Regions from separate parts of the Homo sapiens genome. Here region 2 is linked to region 1. Evidence: promoter capture Hi-C in 16 types of primary human blood cells and fetal thymus (Javierre and others, 2016). All regions are on one chromosome and are shown on one strand. Each heading gives the region's core, a stretch centred on a gene start or on the middle of the fragment in contact. The rest is flanking DNA. Distances are from core to core; before and after follow the strand shown. Region 1 holds the start of ODF1 (outer dense fiber of sperm tails 1). Region 2 overlaps LOC105375683 (a long non-coding RNA gene).

Region 1 (4,779 bases), core at 651-3,150:
AAGAGTATAGATGAATTTACAGGTGAAAGCTCCCAGGCTATGAGGGAGGTTCATTCCTGACCATTGGTGGCTGGTGACCTAGACAATAATTATCCTTTTTTTTTTTTTTTTTTTGAGACAGTCTCACTTTGTCACCCGGTCTGGAGTGTAGTGGTGCAATCTTGGCTCACTGCAACCTCTGCCTCCTGGGTTCAAGTGATTCTCCTGCCTCAGTCTCACGAGTAGCTGGGATTACAGGCACGTGCCACTACGCTTGGCTAATTTTTTTTTTTTTTTTTTTTTGTATTTAGTAGAGATGGGGTTTCACCATGTTAGCCAGGCTGGTCTCGAACTCTTGAGCTCAGGTGATCTGCCCGCCTCCGCCTCCCAAAGTGCTGGGATTACTGGCATGAGCCAATGCACCCGGCCTCCTATTGCTTTTTCCAAAGAAACATCACTGTCACTGTTGTCAAGAGACTCTATCTATCTATCATCTATCTATCTATCTATCTATCTATCTATCTATCTATCTGTCATCTGTCTATCAGTTTTTCTGCACTTTGCTTGTTTGACTTAATACATCAATATGTAAGATGCTTCATCAATCCTTTCTATATTTACTTATTATTCCAGTGCATGAATGTATTATTTATTTAACCAGGGACAGCACTTTCAACCATCTTTTTCATCAACAGTAACAGACTAAATGGCATATGTAAAAAGTTAGAAAAGGAAAGTTTTCTCCAGGCAAAAAGAAAATATAATCTAAAACAAAAATTTTTTTAAAAAACTGACTCTTTTTAATTACCCAATTCAATTAAAAAGCCTTTCAAGTCTATCCTGAAAGCTACAACTCAGTGCCATAGTTTATTTGCAAGACCTTTGCTAGAGTTAGAGGGGAGGCCAACATGATAGACCTAATTCCAGATACAAGGTAAGTCTTTGCCTGGAGTGGGGGGATAGGAGAATGATATTCCCACAAAACCAAGGCAATGCCTCTACTGTTCAATTTGCTCTCCTGCTTGTAAAGCCTCTGGCACACATTAAGGATTTGATCTATTATTATTACTTCTCCTGTAGTCATTTCTGTAAGTCCAAATATACTCAAATCACTTTACTCATAACCAGGAAAAATGTTTAGTTTGCTGCTTCCAATGGCTTTTTAATGACACCCCCTGTTTCTTCCCTTCATTAAAGCCGCATTATTTATCATACTGGCATTCTTGCTATAAACCACCGACGACCTTGCCAATCGACATCATTACATTGTCTTTTGAGAACCCTACAATTCCCATCATGGACTCATTTACTCTTCTTTCCTTAAATCTTTCCTAAGTCACCAGGGTCATTATCCTGAACCCTTTTAATCTTTGTTCAACTATTGATTGTCACATATTTTTCCTTATTCCAACTTATAAGGCTAATATACCGACTATAAAAATTTAAAAATAAGTTATTTTACTTGGCAAGCTCTCGCTTCTCATCTTCTATGGCTCTGATGGCTTTCCTCTCCAAACTTCTGAGAGATGGTCGCAGACAGTAAAGCTTATAATCACACAGGCAACATGGGTAGAGATCACACAGGCCGCAAGAGCGTGATCGCTTGGAATAGCACAAGCAGTACGGATATGGGTGCAAGTCACAGCAGCAATAGGGGTGCATATACAAGTCGCACAGGCACCGTGTGCTAAATTCGTCGATGCATCTCAGTTGCCTTAGTTCTCTGTCCACCTTCTTTATGTCCCTTCTGACACTGTCCAAGAGACAACTCAGTGCAGCCATTATGGTCACACCTGATTGTTCTGTGAGTACCTTTGGGAAATGGCACTCCGGGAAAAAATTTGTTCTAAGCCCTTCTCAGAAGTTGCTTTTAAAAATAAATGAGGCACACATGATTCACTTACTTTAAAGCTTGTGTTCTATGACCTCACCACCTTCTGAAGTATGTCATAGTCTTCTGGTTACCATGTGAACTGTACACAGTCATGGTCTCCAGAGACCATCCTCAGAGTTACAGAGCTACTCTCAGAACCATACTCGTGTTGAGATTTCACTCACCTTCAAGGAGGATGGGTCTCCCAAGCGAGCATAGCTCATCGGGGTGCATGGGGCTGGCCACTAACATCCTTGCCTTGTGTGTGCTCTGGGGACCAGCCATGGCTATGACTGTGTGTTTGTTGAACTTGGTGCAGGCGAAGGCAGGAGCTGCCCACGCCTTTCTCCATGACCTTCTAGCTCTAGCCTTGATTGGAAGCTTGGCCTTGCTCCTTTTGTTCTAGAATTCATTCTGTCTCCAGACAGGTAGAATATAAAGAATGTTCTCATCATTCTCCTCCTACCAAGTCATCCTCAAGTCAGCCATTGTCCTTGACCTTCTGAGTTACAAGTCTCTGAGTCCTGCCCATTCTGCGCCAGCTGTGGTCATGGCTGTTCGGGAACCTCATTTCTCTACTGGTTGGGGGTCCTGTCCTTAAGCTCCCATCTGTCAGTCCTCGGGGGCCTGTCCTGGGGAACTACCTCCCATCAACTACACCTTTGGTCTTGCATCCAAGCCTCCGGATGTCTTGTCCCTGAGTGCTTCCCAAATGTTGGTCTTTGATGTTCTTGTAGCCAACCGCCTGAAGATGCTGGAAGCCAACTGCCTGAAACCCCCGCTTCGGCCAGTTTCCTTTACTTTCTGTTCAGTTAACATCCTAGACCTCTGATTCGGCCTCAGATTTGGCTCTCGGTGCCTCTACTCCTCTGGTCCTTTCACCTCAAACTGCGGTCCAGCTCTCGAGTCTCCCTTGTATGAACTAGAGCTCAGGTATTGATGACAAGTGGTTGGATGTGACACTGGTGAGGGAGACAAGGGCCAGGTTTGAAGGGACCTGTAGCCAGACTAAGGACTCTGAACTTTATTTTGAGCCCAACGAAGGATTGTTGATTTTCTTTTCTTTTGTCAGAAGTGAGACAGCCACACTGAAGGTAAGTTGCTAGGGACAATAGTAGTGGGGTTTTCTGCTGCAAGACAAGAAGAGACAACAAAAATCTGGACTGGGGATCATGGCTATGGGGATGGCAAGGAGGAAGCCAATGGGAAAGCCTTCCCCCACCTCTGCCCAGGCCCCATCTAATCCATTTTCCACATTGTAGCCACAGCGACTTTCATATAGAAATCTGTCATTCCTCAACCTTCCCCACCCATCATCCCACTCACCTTAAAAGTCTTCTCTGTCCTCTCAAAAAAAGGACCAAAATCTTTACCAGGTGCTGAGCAATGGGGCCTCTCCCACTTCCCCACTCTCCTCTCCCATCCTAGTATTATTGCAATTCATTACCCCTCAGCCACGATGGCCTTCCTGGAAGACCACTCACTTTCCAGAGGCCGTTCCTTAGTCCCTTGAAGGACATTCCTCATTCCTTCCACCTCATTCAGAGCTCATACACAGGACGTTCTGCCTGCTTAGAAATTGAACTCCCCACCTATGACTTTCATCCATTTAATTCTTAAGGCACCCTTTAGATCTCCCCCTTTCTTGGGGAAGCCTTCTCTGTCTCCCAGACTAAACACTCTCTTAACTTAGGATACATTTCCTTCATGATATTGTTTCCCCAGCTGGACTGTAAGCCACGAGGGCAAGGACCTTGTCTATTTTTGCTTCGCAGTAGATACCTAACACAATGCCTGGCACATAGCAGGTGCTTGAAATGTACTCACTGAATGACCATCTGGGTGAATTCAACAGGATTTAGTGAACAGAGTGAGGATGGAGTGAGGGAGGAATCAGTGGTGACTTCCAGCTTTCAAGCTTGGCAGACTCTTGGTGCCACTGAGATAAAAATAACACAGGGAGAAGAGTAAGTTTGGGGATTTGGTGAACAGGTGGTGCTGGTGACAACTTTAAGGTAGAAATCTGGAGTATTCTGTGGATAAGAGGGTCTGGAATTTGAGGAAAGCCTGGGCTAGAGATATAAATTAGGAAGCCACAATTCCATAGGTAGTTGGAACCCTGGAAACAGGCAAGATAATTCAGAATTTAAAAAGAGAGCTGAAGCCGACTCCCAGGGAAAAATAAGTAGAAATGAGGAGAGTGAAGGAGTCCATGAAAGGCTCATAGAAGGAGTAACAGAGGGCGACAGCCCCCTCAGCTGGAGTCCCTTGGGAGTCACTAGACCAAGCATGGCATTCCCAATGGCTCGATGTTCCCCAGCCTTGACTTAGGAGGCCCTTTTCTGTGCAGATAATGTGTCTTAGCAAACAAGTGTCCCTAGAGGCATTAGAATGAGAGGCTGGCCCCTTGAGTCACGTGGAATGAGTCAAAAAGCAAAGCTGAATGATTCTCCTCTATGGACAAATTCTGACCTCTTTAAAAGTGATTCCACTGTGATTTGATTCTGAGGGGTGGACCCTATTAATAGAAATATGGCCTACTCTTTCCTGAGAGTTAATTGCAGGAGTTGTACAGATTTCTCTAGCTCCAGGTGACAGAGAATTCTTATATCACCTTGAATTCTATCCCTTAGCAAATGTCAGCAAAGATTGAAGCAGGCAAGCTCTCAGTTTAATATTATTATATACACAAGTTCAGGTGCCTAAATACACACATCTGTGTATACATGGTACATTATTAAGATGGGTATAGCTATATTTCAACTAGGATTCTCCCATTATCCCACCTTCCTAGTGATTTTTCTTTTTTTATTTTGAGACAGGGTCTTACTCTGTCACCCAGGCTGGAGCACAGTGGCATGTGCTCTCTGCAGCCTTGACCTCCTGAGCTCAGGTGAGCCTCCCACCTCAGCCTCCCCAGTAGCTGG
Region 2 (4,779 bases), core at 1,462-3,961, 96 kb after region 1:
CTACTACAGGCACACACCACCATGCTTGGCTAGTTCCTTTTTTTTTTTTTTTTTTTTGTAGAGATCTCACTGTATTGCCCAGACTAATCTTGAACTCCTGGGTTCGAGCGATCCACCCACCTTGACCTCCCAAAGTGCTGGGATTGCAGGCATGAGCTGGCCTAAAAGTTATCCTTACTGCTACTCACTCATTTAAATTAAAAAAGATGAAAGCAACCTAAGATCATCTAAACAAAATGGGCTTAAATTCCCTAATCACTAATAAAAAACAAAATCAAACGTACTAAAACCTAGATGGTAGGAGAGGAAATGAAAGATGTTTAGTATTGGTGAAAGTAGATATCAATGGGTGCATGTGTTCCCACCCAAAGATTTCCAAAAATCAATCTTGATTCTTACTTACATTATGAAAACTAAGATGTAATTTCCAATTATGCCGATGGTTCAAAACATTTCTTGAGTTGTGAACCACACTGAGAGTCTAATGAAAGCGATAGACTTTGCTCCCAGAAAAACGCATATAAATACATACATAAAACTTTGCATATGATTAACTGTATTGCCTTGGAAATGTTTTTCCTTCTCTTAGAAAATTATTTAAAAAGTTTTGCTTTTCTGATTTGGTTTTTCAAGCAAAAACTAATGACCACTTCTTGAAAATTAAAATAAATTTAAAAATTAAATGAATGTAAATAAAATACATTAATTTTAATGTTTAATTAAAATTAAAATAAATACAAGTTGTGCACATAGAGAAAAATAAAACAAAAAGTAAATTTTAATTCTGCTCAAAAGTAATTTCAACAAAAACAATGCTGCCCCTTTGGTTTAATAAGTGTGTGATCTTTTAAAAAAAAAAGACAAATATGTTCATTACCATAGAATTGACTTTAAGTCTTGCTTTGATGGAAATGAGTGTTGAAACCCTGCCTCATAAAGGTTTGTGTTAGTAAATGGAATCTGTGGTCCGGTGACCAGTTGAGGATGGGCTCGGATCAAGAACACCAGGATCGGTTGGGCATGGTGGCTCACGCCTGTAATCCCAGCACTTTGAGAGGCCGAGGCAAGCAGATCACCTGAGGTCAGAAGTTCAAGACCAGCCTGGCCAACATGGCGAAAACCCATCTCTACTAAAAAATACAAAATTTAGCAGGGCGTGGTGATGGGCACCTGTAATCCCGGATACTCAGGAGGCTGAAGTGGGAGAATTGCTTGAACCTGGGAGGTGGAGGTTGCAGTAAGCCGAGATGGCACCACGCACTCCAACCTGGGTGACACAGAGCGAGACTCCATCTCAAAAAAAAAAAAAAAAAAATTAGAACACCAGGATCCTCTACAACTCTTTGAGTTCAATTCCTGTTATTTCATTTCCTTTGTTCTCAAGTCAATGAAGTCATTTTTGGCAGTACTGGCCTTGTTACTGCTGTCTTTGTCAACAGGGAAGGGATTAGGGATTCACTTTCCACTTGAAGACTGTTGAAACAGAAGTAACACTCCAAAGTATTCTGAGGGTTTTCCGGTTACCACAGTTTCCTGACTGCAGAGAAATCGAGAAAGTGTCTTTGTCACACTCAATTCCAGCCTGCAGAAGAATCTGCTTCAGTGATGAAAAGTCTGAAGCTTTGTCCTTCCAAGTTATTCTTCCAAGTATATAGGCTTAGCCAAAAGAGCTTGTAGTTCTGTTTTTGTTTTTGTTTCTGCACCAGAAATATGTTTGTGATTCCAGGACCTGAACTGGAAGATTTTCTTCTTTCAGTACAACCAAACTATCTGCCTAACAAACCAAGCAGTAAGTGAATTCCTCCCAGTAGAATTGTTTGGAAAACTGGCATTTCTTTTTTTTTCTTAAGTACACACACGAGCTTCTCTTCAAGTTCAATAAGGACTTCATCACCCTGTCTTACTCTAGTTGATGATATTGTGCTACTATTATTTGACAAACCCTCTTGAAAAGATGGTGATTCGAGGATCTGGCTTGCAGGAAGTTGAAGATATCCACAGCAGTAGACAATGTGGTTGAGGCTGTTGACAGGGTCTTTGACACCAATGCATGCCGGCCAACATGCAGAGCTGCTTTCCTCTAAAAGGCAGTGTGGGGTTGGGCACAGTGGCTCACACCTGTAATCCCAGCACTTTGAAAGGCTGAGGCAGGTGGATCACTTGAGGCCAGTAGTTCAAGACCAGCCTGGCCAACATGGTGAAACTCTGTCTCTAATAAAAATACAAAAAAAAATTAGCCGGGCATGGTGGCACATGCCTGTAATCCCAGCTACTCGGGAGGCTGAGGCAGGAGAATCACTTGAACCTGTGAGGCAGAGGTTGCAGTGAGCTGAGATCACGCCACTACACTCCAGCCTGGGTGACGGAGCTAGGCTTTGTCTCAAAAAATAAATAAATAAAATAAAAATAAAAAAATAAAAGGCAGTATGACTGGATGGGCTGCCACACCTCAAAGGGGTCCCTCCTAGGACCCGAGCCGGAGTTTTCTTTCCATCAATGTGTACTTGGCAAAGGCTTTTCACAGTTTTGAAGAGGTTAGTAGAATCTATATTTTCCAAAATGGTCTCACGAAATATGGTTTTTGTTTTCATTTTTGTTTTTATTTAGAGGGCATTGGTCAGTATGCAAATAATGCACAAGACCCAGAAAGCCACAAACAAATGTTTGTAGTTTTGTTCTTTTCCGTGCTGCAGAGAAAGAGTATCACTTTCAATTATTCAAAGATCTGCTTTAAAACATAAGAGATATTATACATATAAAGTATAAGAAAGGAATATTACACATTTTGGAGTGGGTGACACCAATGGAAATATTCTGCCGCCTCAGCTTCAAGCCCTCAAAGAGACCAATTTCAAGACATGTGCCTTCACCAACATCTCTCCAATCACACAGATATTGTTTGGCTTGGTAATGGGATAAGACATCTTATAAGATGTGGCCGGGCACGGTGGCTCATGCCTGTAATCCCAGCACTTTGGGAGGCCGAGGTGGGTGGATCACCTGAGGTCAGGAGTTTGAGACTAGCCTGGCCAACATGGCAAAATCTGGCCTCTACTAAAAATACAAAATTAGTGGGGCGTGGTGGCGTGTGCCTGTAATCCCAGCTGCTCAGGAGGCTGAGGCAGGAGAATTGCTTGAACCCCGGAGGTGGAGGTTGCACTGAGCCGAGATCATGCTATTGCACTCCAGCCTGAGTGACAAGAGCAAAACTCTTCTCAAAAAAAAAAAAAAAAAAAAAAAAAAAACTTATAAGATGCTTCCAAATAAGGTTCTTGATTTGGGGATGAATCCATTTGACAAGATTCTAGTCTTCCCCAGACAGGATCCTTCTCATGAATCCACACTGTCTGAGATATATTTCAGGATATGGAGATGTCAGCTGTTTTTTCAGCTTTGTTGGAGTCAGGTTCTCATTGGCACAATCTTCCCTCATTAGAAGCACCGAGAGCTGGTATCCAATTGCATTAGCAATGAAAGATCACAGGGCATTAAAATTTAGTCATAGTGTACTTTCTTTTTTTTTCAACATTTTTAAAATTAAGCTAGACCCAACAAAAGCAAAGGCAGACATTTTTATTCAAAATAATAGAGTATACTTTATTTCATTTTCATCAATGGTAAACTATTTTAGAAATCTTTAAGTAGCAACAGTAACAATTGTGTATTATCAAACCACATACTTACTTTTCATGTGATAAAGACAGTTTAAGCAAGCAGAAAGTAAAATTTGAAAATCTATTCCAGCAAACTGCTCAATTCACTAGTTACCTGTGTGATTAAAGAGCTGATTGCAAAAGCTTGGGAGTCTTTGAATAATCTCTAGAAGTTCTCCACAGTAGTGAACTATATAATGAACTATGATGACCAATTCTATAGGTTTAGAAAGAATTACACATCTTCTAGCATGTTACACTTTCAACTACATTTATAAACCTATTCTATTCTGTTCTATTATTCTATTCTATTCTATTCTATTCTATTCTATTCTATTCTATTCTATTCTATTCTATTCTATTCTATTCTATTTTTTGAGACAGAGTCTTGCTCTGCTGCCCAGTCTGGAGTGCAGTGGTGCGATCTCAGCTGACTGCAACCTCCACCTTCCAGGCTCAAGCTATCCTGCCTCAGCCTCTTGAGTATCTGGGACTACAGGTGTGCACCACCACCCCAGCTAATTATTTTTAAGGTTTTGTAGAGATGGGGTTTCACCAAATTGCCCAGGCTTATAAACTATTTTATACTGTCAGTATCTTCACAGGTACAGGAGAAGTAGAATATAAAAAATTGAAACTAGAAAATTGTAATGTTCTTTCATTTCCTTCTAGACCTCATATGACTAATTTAGAGGATGAGTGTGACAAGACCACATAGAATAACAGTCTTGACTTTTCTTACATACACTTGACTACAACACTCTGTTAACTTTTCACTCATGTTAGCAGCAGTATCTTGGGCATAATTTTGTGCCTTATTCATATTGACTCTGATTTCCAGCAAATAATTATATAACCCTGGAGAGCTAGTCTTGGCCATGTCTTCATCATCAATAAGACGCTCTCTTTTTTTTTTTTTCCCTTTTTTTTTTTTTTGAGACAGAGTCTCACTCTGTCCCCCAGGCTGGAACGCAGTGGCATGATATTGGCTCACTGAAACCTCTGCCTCCCACATTCAAGCGATTCTCCTGCCTCAGCCTCCCAAGTAGCTGGGATTACAGGCACACGCCACAACGCCCGTCTAATTTTTGTATTTTTAGTAGAGACAGGGTTTCACCATGTTGGT

The links. The method cuts DNA at HindIII sites, captures the fragments that hold promoters and counts their contacts. A CHiCAGO score of 5 or more calls a contact.
Region 2: a contact is called between a fragment that was not itself captured here and the fragment with the promoter of ODF1 in region 1, in 1 of 17 cell types (M1 macrophages). The highest score is 5.3, in M1 macrophages.

The regions. Positions count from the first base shown.
Region 1 is chr8:102,548,710-102,553,488 of GRCh38, reverse strand. It overlaps ODF1 (outer dense fiber of sperm tails 1), which reads right to left and starts at 1,900. Exons shown (of 2, transcript NM_024410.4): 1 at 1,442-1,900. The coding sequence starts at 1,761. LOC124901998 (a long non-coding RNA gene) reads right to left here. Exons shown (of 3, transcript XR_007061039.1): 2 at 3,680-3,791; 3 at 2,893-2,982. It overlaps LOC105375684 (a long non-coding RNA gene), which reads left to right and starts at 2,861. Exons shown (of 2, transcript XR_928478.3): 1 at 2,861-2,946. The HindIII fragment of the contact is 343 bases long and covers 1,893-2,235 here.
Region 2 is chr8:102,453,831-102,458,609 of GRCh38, reverse strand. The region is part of intron 2 of LOC105375683 (a long non-coding RNA gene); the gene reads right to left. Among named protein-coding and RNA genes, the nearest start is that of UBR5, 44 kb to the right of the region's middle. The HindIII fragment of the contact is 2,177 bases long and covers 1,623-3,799 here.